Linked DNA regions of Homo sapiens: regions 2 and 3 are each linked to region 1. The links are contacts of gene promoters, found by promoter capture Hi-C in human tissues and cell types (Jung and others, 2019). All regions are on one chromosome and are shown on one strand. Each heading gives the region's core, a stretch centred on a gene start or on the middle of the fragment in contact. The rest is flanking DNA. Distances are from core to core; before and after follow the strand shown.

Region 1 (3,324 bases), core at 457-2,956:
AGGTGGTTATTATAGGAGCAGAAGCTCTGGGCCCATCCTAATGGAAGAAGGAATTCATGAAGCCAGAACCACCACCTACAGCCAGGGGTGTGTTCTGAGACATTCTCTTCTGCCCCCACAAGCAGCACTCCCACTTCACACCTGCCAACCTGTACCTATCTGGCCACCACCCAGAAGTCACAACCCACAAAAGCTGGCCCAGTAGAGATGCCAGGCCCCTAAAGCCCTCCAGTGTTCAGAGACCCCACTGGAGAACAGGCCCTGAAGGTCCAGGGGGTCTCTCTGCAAGGACAGATCAGGGCATCACTTACTGCAGCCACTCAGCAACCACTTCCAGTAGTTTCATTGCGATTTGTCAAGGCAAACATATCCACCTACCCTACCTTTGGTGGAGGCAAGAGGTTAGGCCAGCTGCAGGGGACAGACTCAGACTCAGCTCCATCCCCCAACACTGCCCAACGGCCAGTCCCAGGGCAGGTCTGGAGCTCTGGAATGCCCTCGTGCCTGCCATTCCAGTCTCTGCGACCAGCCCATGCCAGACCTTGTCCTCTTCCCACTCCAGTGTCCCTTATCAAGGTCTCTGCATAGATTTGGGCTGCCGAGGACAGCTTCTGGCAAACTCCTGCCAGGGGTCCTGGACCCTCCTGCTGCTGAATTCAGCCTTGCGCTTTAATGGATTTTCCAAATAGCGGGGACCACAGGCAGCTCAAAGACTTAAAACACAAACGCAAACCCGAGGGAGGGAGAGAGGAACAGAGGGAGGGAGAAACCAGATTTTAGGAGAAACTCGACTTCAGAGAGAGAGCAGGATTTCCCTATCACTATGTTCCCCATCTCCCCGGCAGACGCCAATAACCGGCCCTAAGATGCCCTTGATCTTTGCGCGCCCCCTGCATTCCCTCGCCCCGCGTCTAACGTCTCATCTGGGCAAAGAGGCGGGGGTTGAGAGATGAAACAAGCCCGAGGGAGGATGGTCCCCAAGACATTACCTGAGGCCGGAGTACCTGAGTACCTCCACTCCTGTCGGAGGAAGGGACCAGAAGACGGCCCAGGGATGGGGACCCGGGATGCGCGCCCGAGCAGGAGGTCCCGGCCCTGTCTTGAGTACCCCCGGCAGTGCGTCTCCGGTTGTCCCGCTGTCTCGGTCCCGCTCTGTCTAGCCCCCTCCCCTGGGCTGCGCCCTCCCCGTCCCCGGCCGGATGCTAGAGGAGTTTGCGCCGCCCAACGTGGGACCCCGGTTCGGCGTCCTCACTCCCCGCCCTGCCAGGGCTGGGATTCCCGCACCCGGATTTGTAGCTAAACTTTCCTGGGCACACACGGTCTCGGGGGTGCCGGGCCTCCCCCATCCCCTGCCCACCCGGAGCCGCGCGTCCCGGCTGCAGCGGGACGGTCGCTTCACCTGCTCGCGGCTTGGCCGAGGCTCCCGCGGCTTCCTCGCGCGTCCAGACCCAGGCGCCGCCCGGCGGGTCCCCGCGCAGCTGCCGCCACCGCGGCCACCACCGGTGCCGCCGCCGCGCCTGCCCCGAGCTGCAGAGCCGCGGTTCGCCGGCAGCCGCGGGAGGCGCAATCCCGGTGCCTTGGGTTCGGCCTGCGGCTCCTCGGCTGCCTGCAGCCGCCGCCCCGCCGCGTCCCGCTGCCCGGGGCCGGCACGCACCGGCGCTGGGGTCCGCTCCTCGCCTCGCTGCGCAGGGGATCCGCCGAGCCTCCAGGATGGGCGGGGATTCCCTCCCCCTGGTTGATTCGAGGGGCGGGAACTCCCTTCCCCGAGTGACAGGGACGGGGGGCGGGGATTCCCCTGCAGGAATAACAAGGTGGGCGGGGATTTCCCCGAGCGAGCCCCGCCGCGGGCAAGGCGTCTCTCTGGGTGAGCCAGGAGTCCTGGTGCGCCCGCTTCAGAAACCTGGGGATCGTGGGAGGAAGGCATCCAGGGAGATGGCTGCTCCGAATCTCCATACAGGCGGGGCTTAGGGCGCCATCTAGGTGGAACAGAGCGAGCTAGGGGACGTGAAGTTGCCTCTGCATAGCACTTTACACAGCAAAGAGAAAAATGTCAGTTACCTTATCAAAGAATGGGGCGGAGGGGCCACAGGAGATGGGGGAAGAGCTAACCACTCACCCCAAGCTACCCTTAGCCTCTGGTCCTTGGGATACCAAAGGTAATTTAGCACTGGTACGAGGATTTCGGGGAGAGGGGACCTCTTGGCACCTCAGAGCTGCTTAATCCCCCAGTTAAGCCCCTGGGGGGGAATCCCATGGCCCTGGGGTGGTGGTTTTGGTCCCATGAGCACTAGCCACGAGCTCCTGCCGAGTGGACTGTGAGAGCTAATGCCAGCCGCCCTTGGCTCCCGTCCAGGTCACTCGAGGAACCGAGCCTCAGGCTTTTGGGATCCTTCATTCCGGTGGATTTTCAGGAAGGCCTTCAAATATTTTTGGTTCTTTTTTTGTCATCCTTGTCATTCTGCCTACCAAAGGGAGAGGATGATAAGAACATAATAGGAAGACTGCACAGCTCTGCAAATTAAGCTCTCTTAAGAGGAAAAAGCTGGTCTTTTTCAAGTGCTGGCAGATAAGAGTAAAAACATATGAAAAATTGCAAAACCTGGGATAATGAATAGTTGAATAATGCTTTTGACATTTTCTACAGAACAGTAATTGGAAATCTTTGCTTTCGGGGGGATGGGGATGGGACAGGGCAGGCCCCAGCTGCAGTTCTGCCCAGCAAGGCAATAAACTCTGGCCTCTCCGAAAAGCAGGCAGACATAAATCACCTGCGCAGACCGGACAGCGCTGTCCCACCACACCAGAGACCAGAGTGGGCCCAAGGCATTTGGAGGTGGTATTGTCCTCAGGGGCTGGGGTGGAGAAGTTCTTGATTTCAGCTGTTCTTCAGCTTTTATAATTACCAGGCCATTGAGATCAATGCTTGCACAAATCCAAGCATCGTATATGACAAGCTGGGCACTCAGGCACTCAGAGCTTCTCTTCCTATGTGTAAATAGAGAAAACACCTACCATGCAGGATTGCTGGAACTAGCAGTAACACAGCTATTCAGCACAGCACTTAGGAGGTGCTCAATGAAATGGTAACCATTATCAATGAAAGGTATCATTGGGACACTACAAAAAAATCCTTCTAGAAGGATCAAACAGGGCTGGTGCTTTCTGTTTTTTCCACAATCCCAGGCCCATCTTCCACCACTCTGTCCCGTGTTTTCTCAGCCTCTGTACCCAGCACATACCTTGGGCCTACCTCCCTCAGCACCAATGAAAAGTTTGCTGAATCAATGAATATGCAAATAAATGTATCACTCAAACTGTAGTCAC
Region 2 (3,324 bases), core at 469-2,968, 250 kb before region 1:
CCAGAGAAACTCCTCCTTGGATTTAGGGGCCCACAGGGACTTCCCAACTCTCGCCACTCATTAAGCCTGTTTGATTTAAAAGGAGAAGATTAAATACACAGCCCACAGCCAAGATTCCAGATGTTAAGCCAGCCTTCTCTTTGTGGTTGGGGTCCCCTGCTAAGTAGTACTAGCAATTAACATCTAAAGCTGGGTTCTGAGGGGCTGGAGTCAGGGAAGAAGGGGCCCTGGCTCTAGGCCCGGCTCGGCTGTTTTTATTAGTCCACGATCTGAACCATTCATTTGGTTTCTTCATTTTTCCCTACCGGGAATCGACCCTCTACCAAACCTCTGTCCCTTGTGAGCAGGCTGTGAAAATCAAAGGGGGTTAAAGAGTTATTTTGCAAAAGTATTAAAAAGCCACCACAGAACTGCGCTGTCCAATACCATACACCCTCACCACATGCTGCTATTTAAACCTAATTAAAATGAAAAATTCAATTCTTGGGTCATGTGCGTCACATTTCACACGTGGCTAGTGGCTGCCGTATTGGCCACCTCACAGAAAGAACACCGCCATCGCCCATTAAGTTTTATTGGACAGTGCTGCTCCACAGCTTCTCTTGGATTTCTCTCCACAAAAAAAAAAAAAAAAAAATCACAAAAAAGAACAACCCAGCCTTGTCAATGCTCAGGAGGGCAATGTTTCTTACGGTTTTGTTTGTTTGTTTTGGTGGGGGTGGGGGGGTGTTTGTTTTTGCTTTTGGAGGGGGGACAGTGTCTCACTCTGTCGCCCAGGCTGGAGTGCAGTGACACTATCTGGGCTCACTGCAACCTCTGCCCCCCCGGGTTCAAGCAATTCTCCTGCCTCAATCTCCCGAGTAGCTGAGATTACAAGGTGTGCACTACCACACCCGGCTAATTTTTGTACATTTAGTAGAGACGGGGGTTTCACCATGTTGGCCAAGCTGGTCTCGAACTCCTGACCTCAAAAGATCTGCCCACCTCAGCCTCCCAGAAGTATTGGGATTACAAGCGTGAGCCACTGCACCCGGCCCCCGTGTGTCTTAATGCCTCCAAGAAGAGGAGTCCCTTACTCGGACACAGTAAGGCCACCACCAGGCCCTCTTTCAAATTCTAGAAAGATGACACTTAAAGCAAGTGTTGGCGAGTAAAGGGCTTTTCCCCCTTGGCTCCCACTGCCTTTATACTCAGATGGCCCTTTCAGACCTAATCTATTATTTACACAGTCCTACTTTTAAGAGAATGCATTTCAAACATTTTCTCAACAGGAGTGTGAGGTCTGTGCAAAGCCAGGGTCCAGGACAACCAATCACTTCCCTCCTGTTGGCCTGACAGGCCTTTCTGAACAGCACCAGAAAATGGCCAACTTGAACTATTTAACAAAACAAAAGGACACAGTCCTCCCCTGGCCAAGTGTTAAAAGCATTCCAAAAGAAAAGGCCGAAACAGAAGCTCCTCCCCTCCAATCTGTTCCTCATCTGTCCAGGGATTTATTGGCTCTCGCACTAAATTAATCAATTGCCAAAAGAGAGCTAAAACCACGGCTCCAATGTAAATACTTCTTGGTAACAATCCCTCAGCGTGACACTTCAGATTTCAAGTGGCTGGGTGGCCTTCCAAACGCCTCATTAAATAGCAACTTTATAGCATTAAGAGGAAAAGGCTCTGGGATTTTCTGTACAAATGTATAAATCAATCTTTTCAAAGACAAACAACAGAACAACCCGCAAAACATACGTGATAGGGGAGGGGGCTCGGGGAGGAGCATCAAGAAACTGAGGAAGGAGAAACTGAAGCCGACGGAGGTTGGTCTAAAGTTTCTCCTGGCTCTGGGCATGAGGGTATCTTGACTGGGAACATTTCCATTCCATCCAACATGAGTTTTTCCCATTATCGAATGGGACCACTCTCCCGATGGTGAGATCCCATGCCCTGTATCATCCCAGACTGACTTCCTATCCCTCAGAGCATTTATCAAAGATTTCCAACTCACAGGCAGTTAAAATCAGTCAAGCTTACGGACTTCTCTCAGGGAATGATTTAGTGTTAAGAAAAACTACATCCTCAACAGTTGGTTATTGATTACCCTCTGTGTTTAGGACATAGTAAGGGTTAGAAAAACACATTCTCCTCTCTCCCTCAAATAATTTCACATGCCTTGTAGAGTATAAACCACCTCATTAACAGCCAAGCCTACAAAGACACCACTGCCTCACAAATCGGAGTACGTAGCCCTGACCAATCCAATCCCATTTTCTTTTTAGAAAACCTTCAATGGGGCCGGGTGCGGTGGCTCACACCTGTAATCCCAGCACTTTGGGAGGCGGAGGCAGGCAGATCACCTGAGGTCAGGAGTTTGAGACCAGCCTGGCCAACATGGTGAAACCCCATCTCTACTACAAATACAAAAATTAAGCCAAGCATGGCGGCACGCCTGTAATCCCAGCTACTCAGGAGGCTGAGGCAGGAGAATTACTTGAACCCAGTAGGCGGAAGTTGCAGTGAGCTGAGATCATAGCACTGCACTCCAGCCTGGGTGACAGAGGGAGGGAAGGAAGGGAAGGAAGGAAGGAAAGAGAAAAGAGAAGAGAAGAAAAGAGGAAAGAAGAGAAAATAAAAAAGAAAAAGAAAAGGAAACAAAACAAGAAAGGAAGGCAGGCAGGCAAAGCTTCTATGGGCAATATCTGCGCCATCCAAATTCCACTGCTGTAAATGGCCCAAAACAGCTGCACCCCTGGAACCCAGGCTCGAAAAATAGGGTTGTATCCCTCTGATGTGCCCAAATGCCCATCGTATGTTGGAAGTTAACAATGCTGAACAACTCCCACTCCCTCCCCGACTCTCGCCACTCTTCGGCTAAGCAGCCTTTCAAAGCTATGTGTAACTGTCCCCCCACAGACCAATCCATTTTATTTTTCCTTTAGAAAAAGTGCTGTTCCCCCCCTCCCCCGCACATAAAACTGATGACTGAAAGCAAAGCGTAGGACAGTTTTGAGACACAGGGCATGCACAGGCAACCCTCAGTATTTGAGCCTGTGTCATTCTTGACACTGTCCCCCTAACTGGCAGTTCTCTGTACAGCTATGCGAAATTTTGTCAGATTCCTACAGAAAAATCAGCCCTATTGTTCCAACAGAACAACGGACAATTGATAATCAGGACAGTGAGAGGAGAGAAGCAGACTCTGCAGATCTCAGGAATGGCACTTCTCTGCTGTAAAAATGGTTCCTATTGGAAAAGCTGCCAACCTCCTAGCTCTCCTCCATCCTCAACACTGCTTTCTCCATCTCAAAAAGCAAAATGAAACAAAATTAAGCCTGT
Region 3 (3,324 bases), core at 355-2,854, 140 kb before region 1:
TTGTCTACTTAGCCAAGACTCCCCACTACTAGAAAACATTAGAAAAGTCATGACTACCTTTTTTTTTTTTGAGACGGCATCTCGCTGTGTCGCCCAAGCTGGAGTGCAGTGGTGCAATCTCGGCTCACTGCAACCTCCACCTCCCGGGTTCAAGCGATTCTTCTGCCTCAGCCTCCCGAGTAGCTGGGATTACAGGCATGTGCCACCACGCCTGGCTAATTTTTGTATTTTTAGTAGAGACAGGGTTTCACCATATTGGCCAGGCTGGTCTTGAACTCCTGACCTCGTGATCCACCTGCCTTGGTCTCCCAAAGTGCTGGGATTACAGGCGTGAGCCACCACGCCTAGCCTCAGGCATCACTAACTTCTTACTCTTAGAGTTTTTGTCCCTGTTTTGCACTGACCACCCCCCTTCTATTCATACCCACTTTCTCCAAAGTGCACATTATGACATCAATAAGTAATGATTTCTGATCTCTGAATTACAAGCACAATCCGATTTCAGTCCATCCTCCACAAGATCACTGTGATTTGATGTTTGTTTTCTACGTGCATTCAAGGACAATGTCTTACCTTGGAAACTTGGAGACTGGCTATCCAACCCTGTATGTTGTATTTACTAGTTTAATTCTCAAAATAAAAACTTGACTTCCTTATGTCTAAGTTCGGGGCTGCGAAGAAGGGACCTCACTATTGCCCCAGGTCCCGAGGACACCTCTGGATTTAGTGTAACTACAGGAGCTAGCAAAGTGGCCATGTGGGGCACTCACAGGCAGTTTTGATGCGCTCAGAATGGTGTCTGTGAATGCCTGCAGGAGGTGAGGACGGGAGGGACAGAACTAAAGTCACAAGCAAAGCCGGGATTTCATGTTCTTTTTTCCACTCTTGACCTGGAGCCCTACCGAGGAGCCTTATGCTCTGAATTTCCAGACAGCTCCTGCATTTCCCAGAGCCCTGAGGCCCTGTGGCAGCGTCCCAGTGCCACAGATGAGGGAACAGATTGAGAGGGGACCGGAGACTCAGTGACAGTCAGAGCACTATGTGTCCATGACGTCACTCGGCAAAAACTCCCTGCAGATTGGAAGGCAGGTTCTCATCCATTAAGCAAAGCCTTTCTCCAGGAAATTGGAAGCGGGAAAAAAATAAAACTTCTTTGTATTAGAGACAACATAGGCACAAGGGCACATCTCCACAGGGGAAATGTAGACGGTTGGGTACATTTAGGACAGGAGTCTAATGTTTCCATTGCTGAGGCCTCAGAGGGAGGTGCTATAGGAAATAGACACTCTCAGGCACGCTGCCGATCTGGGGAATTACCAAGATTAGCAAAATGGCCATTACCTGCCACCCACCAGGTTCCACTGAAGCATTTCCAACATACTTTAAGCACCCTGGTTGGACGACTCCAAGTTCAGTATCAATCTCTTTGTGATGCTGAGCACGCAGACTGTGCCAAGTGAGACACTAAAGAAACTATGTGAAAATAACCGAAGACTTGTTCTCAACTTGAAATCTCAAGTCTTCTCGCCTGAGGAGGTGATTAAAAACTTGGCCTCCTTCCCCGATGCGGATGCTCTAGCCCCCTGCCTGGCAAGCTCAGGTGCTCTCCTGCCCAGTCCTGTCCTCATCCTTCCCTCCCGTGTTCTCCAAGGCTCTCTCCATGACACCTTCCACCCAAGTCCTTTCCCACGAGTCTTAAGACCAGAAAAAAAAATGGAAAGAAAGACGCGTGCATGCTTCTGGTGTTCCCAAGTTCCACAAGATAAACACTGGTTAAGCCAGTGAGGAATGACTCCTCAGGCAGAAATCATTCATTCATCCAGCAAATATTTATTGAGTGCAATAAATCAAGTTTAAACCAACTTTATCTAAAATAAAGTTTAAACCAACTTCATCTAAAATAAAGTTTAAACCAACTTTAAATAAAAGTCCTCACCTTTGGGAACTTAAAATTTAAAGTGGTGGCCAGGCACGGTGGCTCACGCCTGTAATCCCAGCACTTTGTGGGGCTGAGGCAGGCTGATCACTTGAGATCAGGAGTTCAAAAGCAGCCTGGCCAACATGGTGAAACCCCGTCTCTACTAAAAATACAAAAATTACCCGGGTGTGGTGGCGGGCACCTGTAATCACAGCTACTCGGGAGGCTGAGGCAGGAGAGTTGCTTGAACCTGGGAGGCAGAGATTGTGGTAAGCCGAGATCGTGCCACTTCACTCCAGCCTGGGTGATAGCGCAACACTCTTTCTCAAAAAAAAAAAAAAAAAAAAAAAATCTAAAGTGGTCTTTCCAAGCCAGCCTGAACCCCAGAATCATCTGGGCTTCTTAAAGATACGCTAGATCCAGATCCAATCCTTAGAGATTCTGATTCCCAAGACCTGGGGGTGGTGGTAGCGAGCAGATACCTGTACTTGTAATGAGTGTTTTGGGTAACTGGTATAACATGGTCCTGGAAACTATTGATCAATTAGAACAAGAGGTGCCAACTCCTGCATGACTGAGACTGGGACCACAGGAAGAAGGTTAATTTTAACATCCTAATGTCTCCGGAGACTCCTCATTTCCCACCCATGTAGGGTTGTAAGATTCAGCAAATAAGAATGTATAGCTCCCAGTTAAAAATGAATTTCTGAAAACAAGAAATAATGTTTTAATATAAGTATGCTCCAAATATTGTAGTATATCTTAATGTAGGTATGTCCCATGTAATAGTTGGGACATATTTATACTAAAATATTATTCATTGTTTATCTGAAATTCAAATTAAACTGTCTGGTATTTTATATGGCAACCCTACTCTACCCCACCCCAAAATGAAGCTCTCAGAGTCTGTGACCTGCATGTCTGTCTGCCTTTGTGACATATGGAATCCCAGCCGGCACCCCTACCCTGCCTCAACAGGCCTTTCACTTCTTCCTGAATGCAGATAGCACCCATGGGCCACGGCCACCCACACTGTGCCGGCATAGAGTGAATGAGTCAGACCTGGGATCACAGCTCATCACCTGACTTGGAGGAACTTCTCTTCCTGGCCCCCCTGTTATCTCAGGCTCTGGTCTCATATGCCCAAATCTGCTCCTCACAGCCCAGCTGCCTTCCCTAAATGCCTCTATTCGCCCAAACCCTGTAAATAGTAGTCCCCTCTGGCCAACTGACCTCCTGAAATAGGCACTGACAAAATGAGACGTCTGTCTCACATTATACAACTGTGTTATAAGGATGAAAGAAGATCAGGAACAGAAAGAAAAGGTCAGAAATAGAAAAATGTTTGAAGTAATTACAAGAAGTAATCCACCAGTGATTTTCAAATCATGATCCTAGGACTACGT

What was found. Contacts are between HindIII fragments. The study calls those that stand out against the background at their distance.
Region 2: a fragment that was not itself captured here is called in contact with the fragment with the promoter of PDZD2 in region 1 in 2 of the 25 tissues and cell types used here (dorsolateral prefrontal cortex and hippocampus).
Region 3: a contact is called between a fragment that was not itself captured here and the fragment with the promoter of PDZD2 in region 1, in 1 of the 25 tissues and cell types used here (heart left ventricle).

What each region holds. Positions count from the first base shown.
Region 1 is chr5:31,637,513-31,640,836 of GRCh38, reverse strand. It overlaps PDZD2 (PDZ domain containing 2), which reads right to left and starts at 1,706. Exons shown (of 25, transcript NM_178140.4): 1 at 1,400-1,706. RefSeq lists a silencer at 1,403-1,752. The HindIII fragment of the contact is 21,895 bases long and covers 1-3,324 here.
Region 2 is chr5:31,887,449-31,890,772 of GRCh38, reverse strand. The region is part of intron 2 of PDZD2 (PDZ domain containing 2); the gene reads right to left. Among named protein-coding and RNA genes, the nearest start is that of MIR4279, 47 kb to the left of the region's middle. RefSeq lists enhancers at 574-1,075, 1,076-1,578. The HindIII fragment of the contact is 3,683 bases long and covers 1-3,324 here.
Region 3 is chr5:31,781,653-31,784,976 of GRCh38, reverse strand. The region is part of intron 1 of PDZD2 (PDZ domain containing 2); the gene reads right to left. Among named protein-coding and RNA genes, the nearest start is that of PDZD2, 140 kb to the right of the region's middle. The HindIII fragment of the contact is 7,585 bases long and covers 1-3,324 here.